Regions from separate parts of the Homo sapiens genome. Here regions 2 and 3 are each linked to region 1. Evidence: promoter capture Hi-C in 16 types of primary human blood cells and fetal thymus (Javierre and others, 2016). All regions are on one chromosome and are shown on one strand. Each heading gives the region's core, a stretch centred on a gene start or on the middle of the fragment in contact. The rest is flanking DNA. Distances are from core to core; before and after follow the strand shown. Region 1 holds the start of PIR (pirin). Region 2 overlaps LOC124905249 (a long non-coding RNA gene). Region 3 has its middle 190 kb from the start of MIR548AM.

Region 1 (2,782 bases), core at 181-2,680:
TGCATTTCTCCGAACATATCCCCATCGTTAAGTGAAGCATGACTTTAGCAGCTCTGTTGGCCCCTTACTAAAAATCTCCAATGAACACTTTGTCTTTCTTACTTCACTGAATTCTCTCGATCTCCCACCCCTTCCCCAGTGCCACTCATCTGTCAGCCTCACTGGTAGCACCCATGAGGTAGTTGCTACCAATGAGGCTGACAGATGGGGGCAGGTTTGTGTGGCGCCTTAGAGAAAATGGAGAAAAACAAAGAGGTCCCTAACTCTTACCAGAACATGCTGAAGATCTTGGCATTAAAAGAGATCTTCGAGGGTCATTGAATTCAAAGACCCATCTATTCCTGAAGTTCAGGGCCAACATTTTGGGCAAGAAATCTTTCAGCTTACTCATGAAGTCTCCTAGAGCATAGGCAAGTCATGGACCAGCTGTTCTTGGCAATGTATCTCATATTTCAGGACTTACCTATAGCCAGAGTTTGTTATTCGAAAGTCTTTTCCTCTTTGGGAGGTCTAGGTTCTAATGGACTATCCCAGAAGGAATATAATCTATCCCTATTCCACTTCAAGTGTTTGCAGACAGTACCCCCAATCCCTTAAATCTTTTCTTCAAGTGAAATATACCCAATTCCTTCAAAGATTCCTACTGAAACGAAGAGAGGTGCTTTGGCAAAAAGCAGACTCTGGAACCAGACAGCCTAGGTTTGCATCTCAGCTTCACCACATATCAGCTGTGTGACCTGAGGTTTTCTGTGGCTCAGTTTTATCTGTAAAATGGAATGATAAGACCGCCTACCTCAAAGGGGTGCAGTTAGTGCTATGAGAATGTTAGCTGCTGTTATTCAGAAGGGCTCTACTCCACAATACCCTCCACTTAGTCAAGGCCTACCCTAAAATGTATCCTCCCTGAATAGTAATCGATAAATATTTATTGGGTGATAGGTTGCAAGGCGCAGAAACGAGCTTAATACTCAAAGCAGTACAGGCCGGTCATCACCTACATCGAAGCAACCAGAAAGTATCTTTATCCCCATCTAGATTATGTCTGGGTCCTTCCAGACTCCTACGATTAAATTGTATGCATGTGAACAACTGATGAGGTACTTAGATCTCAGTGCTTTGCAGAAAGAAAAGCCGTCTACCATTTTCACCAAATTTCGTAGTACAATTTAAGTATCTCTTGTTATCTCCCCTAGGAGTCTAAAGTGAGCTGGGGAAGGCAGGATTTTGCAAACTGACCGCCAGCATTCCCTCACCTAGTGGACCCCTGCAGGAGCCCCAGGTACTCACGCTGCGGTAGCGGCACCTGGAGCCTTAGCGGCGGGGGTGACGCGAAGAGCCGCCGGGAGCGAGTGCAGGGAGGGCAGGTTAAGAGAGTGTGGGTCCAGTAGCCTCACCGTGACTCAGCGCTTCGCGGCCGGCGGCCTAGAGGAGGCGGGAGGCGGGAGTCTACGGGTCTCGGAGGCCCTGGGGCTCCGCCCTCGGGAATGTCACTCCACTCTCGCTCCGCCCTACGCCTCTCCCAGGCCAGCTTGGCGGCCCTTTGGCCTCCCTGCCTCTCGTGCCGGGAAGAGATGCTCACTCGGGTAATTTAGGCGGCACTTGCTGTGCTCCAGGAGGAAATGTGTGGCCCGGGCAGGTGCTCTGATCGGCGCTCCGGTCGGTCTTGTGGGAAATCTGTTTTTAACTGTAGTCTCCCTGTCACCCAGCCGGCGGAGCTTGGCGGCACGGATTCCAGTGCTGCCTCCACCGCTGGGAGGCACCACTTGACATGACCTGGGACAGGTGGCTCAGTCTCTCTGTGCCTCTGGTTCCTCCTCTATAAAATGAGGATGGTGATGATAATAGTGCCAGCCTTATCGGGCTGAAATGAGAATTAAATGAGCCTGTCACATTCTAAGCACTACAGAATCGTTTGTTCCATAGATAAGTTGCCTGCTGTTTGTCAGTTAGAATTGCGAGAAAAGGAGTGCGGGAGTGGGGACGGGCAGCCATACGTCTTTATTCCTGCCTGAAGAGAAGGCACACTCTAGTGGGGAGATAATTGGTTAAGAGTTTGTATGGTGTTGGAACACAGTGGGCAGGCGTTGGAGAGTTTTTCCAGAAGAATGAGGAGCTGGCACAAGCCAGTGAGGGGATCTAGTTGATTACTAGGATTATTAACTAGTGGTACAGGCATAGCTGCAGTTTCTATTCTCTAAACACCAGAAGGCTCATTGCCTGGTTTTGAGAAAGGAAAGACAGTGGTGTCTCTAAAATAAGGTTGGAAAACTTTGTCTGTGAAGGACCAGATAGTAAATACTTTGACTTTGCAGGCCATGTACATTCTCCAGTTTGCCTTTGTAGCAAGAAAGCAGCCATAGATAACATGTAAATAAATGAATGTGGCTGTAGTTCAATAAAACTTTAATTATGAATACTGAAATATAAATTCATAAAATTCATACAATTTTGAGTTCATATAATTTTTACTTGTCATGAAATATTATCCTTCTTTTGATCTTAAATGTAAAACCACTTAAAATGTAAAAACCATTCTTAGCCCTCTGGCTATACAAAAATAGGTAGTGGGCTACCTACTCATTTTGGCTGCAGGCCTAGTATGCAGATCCCTGCTCTAAAAGAACAGGTTAGTAGAGGAACGAACACTTTTCTCTGGGCTTTTAAAATATCAGTGGGGCTTAAACCCGTCCTCATCACCTTACTTAGGCAGTTCAAGGCTAGCTGAGATAATACACATGAACATTAAAGGTGCTATGGAATAACAAAGTATTGTTTCTTATCG
Region 2 (2,782 bases), core at 174-2,673, 960 kb after region 1:
AATATGGCATTCTGTTCTACAATAAGCCCCCTTTCCAAACGTCTACTCTAATTCAAAGAGCAGTGAGAACCATCACTAATCATGAAGTCCAGCAAACACTGATAGAACTCCAACAGAATTCTTGATGAGTTCAAATATTTCAGAATTCCTCGAGCACCCATGGCTTTGTGCCTTTAACCAACGTTTTGTACATATGTTCCTCTTATTTATCACTGCTTTCTTAGGCATGAGTCTTAATGGCTATTGAACTATTGTGGAAAAGGGGTAAAATTTCAACATAGGTAGATATATGTTTGCTTTCTTGGAGCCAAACATTACCTCTGATTTTATTACCCAGATATAATATATAATCTTTGTGCTGAAAAGTGAAAATGAAACACAAAAGTGAAGGCTGTGTGACTGAAATAAGACTTATGCATTCGGATATAATGTATAAAGTAGAAGACAGTATCTAGCATAAATCCTCTAATATCTCTCCTATAGTGTGCAAGAATCTGGGAAGCAGAAGTATGGTAATTCAGGCTCATGGTTTTCCTATCTGGAAAACAAGGATAAAATTGTGGGTCTCAAAGGGAAGTTGTAAAAATAAAAATACATTTGAATCAGAAGTATTTACTGGGCATCCAGCCTGTATTCCACCATGCTGGGCCAAGAGGAGAAGCAGGAGAGCAAGAAAGTCCCTGTGTCCAATCTCACAGGTGGCAGCCTCTGTCCTCTCACCATAAGCAGGACTGAGCACTCTCCTCAGACATCATAAAGGATCCATTTGTGCTAAAGAATCAGTGAAAATCCACTGATCGTCTCCTGAGGAGATGAATAAGAAATCTGCACTGCACAGCACATAGCACATCTCATAAAATTTCCTATAAATACCTCTCCCCAAGTCTTTTCTCTGAGCCATGCAACTCCTGGGCTCATCTTTTTCCTCCAGCTCAGATATCACCATCTACCCTACTTATGTGGAAAATTTTCCCCATGTCCTGGCTTCTTTCTTCAGTCTTGTATAGCCCCACCCAATGGTGAGATCATAAGTTTCTTACAGTGAGGGATCATGTTTGTACTTAACTTGCACAATGAAAAGTACCTTTATAAAAAATCTTCAATTCACTCTATGATAGCAGTCGGCAGGCGGGCAGGTGCCGAGAGCTGGAGGCACCCCAAATGCTTTATCCTCAGTAAAATGGCCCCTCCATACCTAAGGAATCCTGCCTGTTGGGTGGCAGTAACAAGACTAAAGAAAGAAACCAGGACAGGGCTGAAATCTTCCCAGGGGAGGAATGAAAGAAGGGGAGAAGCCGCCTGAAGGGATAAGTGGTGTCGGGGCTGGAGCTGGGAAATTGAATGGCTGAGAGGAGAGACTTGGGAAGAGACATTTATAGAGATTTTTTTGAGTGTGTTGTACAAGGCACTCAAGGCCCTGGCACAGAGTACAGATTTTACATGCAAGCAGCAGTAGAAGTGAGACAATTGCCCAGAATGTGAATGGGCAATGGGAAGGAGTTCAAAATAAGGTGTTAATTTTTTTATTTATTTCTTTTTTTTTTTTTTTTTTTTTTGAGATGGAGTTTCATTCTTGTTGCCCAGACTGGAGTGCAATGGCGCGATCTCGGCTCACTGCAACCTCCACCTCCCGGGTTCAAGTGATTCTCCTGCCTCGGCCTCCTGAGTAGCTGGGATTACAGGCATGTGCCACCACCCCAGCTAATTTTGTATTTTTAGTAGAGACGGAGTTTCTCCGTGTTGGTCAGGCTGGTCTTGAACTCCCGACCTCAGATGATCTGCCTACCTCGGCCTCCCAAAGTGCTGGGATTATAGGCGTGAGCCACCGTGCCCGGCCAATTTTTTTATTTCTTAACGTGACTGGATGACAGTTCATAAACATCTCCCACCCTGGAATGACTCTCACCTCCCTCCAAATATCCTGTGCGTCCTTCAAGATTCAGATCAATTTCCAACCATCCCCTCCCTGAAGTCTCCTCAAACCCTCTGACCACAGTGGCACTTCCCCTGTCTCAATTTAGAGGTATAATTTGTAATGTTGAACTGCCGTTTTGGGGTTTCTTCCTCTCCTGCCATCCATCCAATACACAGTTGTGGGTCACTTCAACGATGGGAATACAATCCGAGAAATGCTTCTTTAGGTGATTTTTGTAATTGTGCAAACATCATAGAGTGTACTTATACAAACCTACACACCTAGGCTATGTGGTATGGCCTATTGCTTTAGACTACAAACCTGCACAGGATGTGACTACTGAATGCTATAGGCAGTTGTAACACAATGTTAAGTATCTTTTTTTTGCATTTAAACATAGAAAAAGTGCCAGGTGCGGTGGCTCATGCCTGTAATTCCAGCACTTCAGGAGGCTGAGGTGGGTGGATCGCTTGAACTCAGGAGTTCAAGACCAGCCTGGGCAACATGACGAAACCCTGTCTCTACAAAAAATACAAAAATTAGCCAGACATGGTGGTGCACATCTGTGGTCCCAGCTACTTGGGAAGCTGAGGCAGGAAAATTGCTTGAGCCCCAGAGGCAGAGGGTGCAATGAGCTGAGATCGCGCCATTGCACTCCAGCCTGGGTGACAGAGTGAGACTCTGTCTCTATATTTAGAGTAAATAAATAAATGTAGAAAAAGTACAGTAAAAATGCGGTATTATGATCGTACAGGACCACTGTTGCAAATGTGGTTTATCCTTGACCAAAACGTTATGTGGGGCGTGACTGTATTATTATAGAAGCAATCCTTAACCACAGTTTTTATCACGTCATACCTCCACTAA
Region 3 (2,782 bases), core at 92-2,591, 940 kb after region 1:
GAAGAGCAACTAATCAAACTGTAATTTATACAGTAATTTTTTTTGTAAGCAAGACTTGGGGGCCCACATTGGTGGTTTGTAAGCAAGCCTTGGGAGCCCACATTGGTGGTGCCATATACAGCAGCATGAGAAACCAGGACTGGAGAATGAGGTGGCTAATACTGGAAAGCTTAAAGAGAGAGAATGATACTCAAATCCCTAGTTCTTGGCTGAAAGCAAAACCCAGAACCAGGAGGATTTTGTATCCCTGTGCTAAAAAAGAATGTCTTATTTTTTGTAGCAGCAGTACAAAACTACCCAGAATCAATCCTCTACTCCAGTGGGGACTAATTTAGAACATCAACTGAATCACAGACTCATCAAGGGCCTTATATGAAAGTTAGGGCATCAATAAGGAAAGAGCAGACCCTGAGAACTGCAATGGTGTTCAGTGGGAGGGTGTCAAGGCCTCAAACACCAAATCTCCAAACTCCACTGAACCTAGGTTTTCAGCTCAAGCCATTCTTCCTCCCACGTCTGAGGCAGCTCATGACTTACCTGAAGACTCCGTAACTCTCTTTCCTTGTAAGAATTACCTTGCACAAGGAAGACTAACCTTCACAGGCCCTGAATCCCCTAATGAAGGGGAAGTCAGGCAGGGCCTTAAAGAAGTGTCCTGAAATTACTTCACAAAAATATTGGGGAATCTTCCTCCTATCCTTTGACTTGTAAATATTTATCAAGGAAACAGCGTATTGGGCAAAGGGAAATGCCTACCCATTTCAGATATTATTGAACATTGAATCTGAGTAAATAACACTGCCACTCACTAATTAGGGTGGAGACTTACAAGATTCAGGTGATCAATAGCATTTAGGTCCCAGTCCCAGTCTAATTTAAAGTGGACAGACTAACACTCTGAACTCAGCCCATGATAGTTTATCTATCTGTTTCCTAAGGATTTACTTTGAATAGGTAAATCTAGCCACTGCTAGAATCCCCACATTGTCTCTGAACCACAGGTAAAATAAGTCCAATGGAAGCCCCTAGGATTACCCATTGCACTCAAAATGAAAAATAAAAAGCAATACCATATCTGAGAAAATTATAGCAATTAGTGTCACCATGAAAATCTTAAGAAATGCAGGGAAGGTGATTCCTAGTACATCCCCACCTAACTTTCCAGTTTGTCCAGTGCAGAGGATGGGGGCTTCTTGGAGAATGATGGTGGATTGACATGTGCTTCATGAGGGGGTGATTCCAATTGCAGCTGCATTTATGGATGTGGCCTACTAATGAGGAAACATAACCCAGTCCCTGGTGTCTGGCATTTATTCATTCTTCAGTGAATTGAGCACCTACTATGTTCCAGGTAATGTTCTAGGTACTGGGTATAGTGAAGTGAGCAAAACAAACAAAAATGTCCATCCTTGCAGAGTCAAATATCTTTGTCTCTTATCTGATAAACACCAGAAGCATTTTGCTTTTACCTAGCAGGGATAGCAGAACACCTTACCAACTTGTCACAGGGCTTTTCTAGTTCTGTTCCACAATTTGCTATGCAGGAACCTTGACTTTCTCGCCACCACACAGGACATTCCTGAATACTGTATCATATTAAGAAGACATGAAGAGCAGGGACCAGATTGGCTGGGTTCAAATCCTATCTCTACTGCTTTCTAGCTGTGTGATTTTGAACAGGTTACTTAACCTCTCTGTGCCTCTATTCTCCTATCTGTAAAAGGTAAAATCCCACGGTATTTTGGGGAGGGCTAAAGTTGTTAATATATGTAAAGTGCTTTAGTACCTAAAGAAATAAATTTTCCACAAGAATGATTTTCATTTAGTGAGAAGCCAAGACTTTCACATTACCATGCTGGCCTCCACACACATTCCCTTGAGAAAAAAAGGTGAGAAAAAAACTCATTAAAAAAAAAAGGTGAGGAGTAAGTATCATCTTACTATTAAGGGTCAGTTGAGTTGCTGCTACTCGATACAAGCAGGGATGAGTATGAATGAAATTGGGTGAGTCTTACAGTTCCTCCTATTATTATCTTGTCCAGTAATAAAAATTAATGAAATACTAATACAGGACAATCCAGGCAGGCCCACCAAGAGTTCAATTTCCTTAGAAATGAAGATTTGAGTGACTCTACTAAGTAAAACACACTGAGAATCTGAGGTACAGGCTGCAGGCAAAGGAGATCTGGAATAGGGAGAGGTGGGAGTTATAAATACCAGCTGTTGCCTTGTGGTAGAAGTATAAATGGTGACAGTAGACGCTACACATTTCCTTGATTACTGTGACATGAAAATATGGAAAGAAAAGTACATGTGGATATCAAGTAGCCAAAGAATACATTGTAATTGCTTTTCTAGGAAGGGTTTTCCAGGATCTGGATGCTATCCTTAAATCTGGAGAATGTCCCATGGCGTGAGCCTTAGGGAAGGCAGTTCCTCCCTCTTGCAAAAGAAAAGATCAGATTCTGGCTTTCTCTGAGCCCTGGCTGCTGCGCTAGGAGGGGGCACATAGTCTAAGCTTGGCCAATCAGGTGCTCCCACTCAGCTCTTTGAATCTTGAGTTAATGACTCAAAGAAAGTCTTAGCGGTGGTGCTGACAGGGCTTCTAGTATCCAGTGCAGCGGTGTCACCCACAGAATATGTCCAGCAGTGGCAACAGAGGCGTCCGAATCAGACTGTTCCACTAGAGGGCGCTCGAAAGAAGTTCTGGTAGCCCAGTTTAATATGGATGCCTCCTACCACGTTCCCAGTCAGGTTCTCCAAGAGTCCCATATTTCTTTGA

The links. The method cuts DNA at HindIII sites, captures the fragments that hold promoters and counts their contacts. A CHiCAGO score of 5 or more calls a contact.
Region 2: a fragment that was not itself captured here is called in contact with the fragment with the promoter of PIR in region 1 in 2 of 17 cell types (total B cells and naive B cells); the score reaches 10.0 in total B cells.
Region 3: a contact is called between a fragment that was not itself captured here and the fragment with the promoter of PIR in region 1, in 3 of 17 cell types (total B cells, naive CD8 T cells and total CD8 T cells). The highest score is 7.1, in total B cells.

Annotation. Positions count from the first base shown.
Region 1 is chrX:15,491,903-15,494,684 of GRCh38, forward strand. It overlaps PIR (pirin), which reads right to left and starts at 1,431. Exons shown (of 10, transcript NM_001018109.3): 1 at 1,288-1,431. RefSeq lists enhancers at 841-1,343, 1,344-1,847. The HindIII fragment of the contact is 4,696 bases long and covers 1-2,782 here.
Region 2 is chrX:16,450,537-16,453,318 of GRCh38, forward strand. All of the region lies in intron 1 of LOC124905249 (a long non-coding RNA gene), which reads right to left. Among named protein-coding and RNA genes, the nearest start is that of MIR548AM, 180 kb to the right of the region's middle. The HindIII fragment of the contact is 8,932 bases long and covers 1-2,782 here.
Region 3 is chrX:16,434,102-16,436,883 of GRCh38, forward strand. No RefSeq gene overlaps it. Among named protein-coding and RNA genes, the nearest start is that of MIR548AM, 190 kb to the right of the region's middle. The HindIII fragment of the contact is 2,349 bases long and covers 168-2,516 here.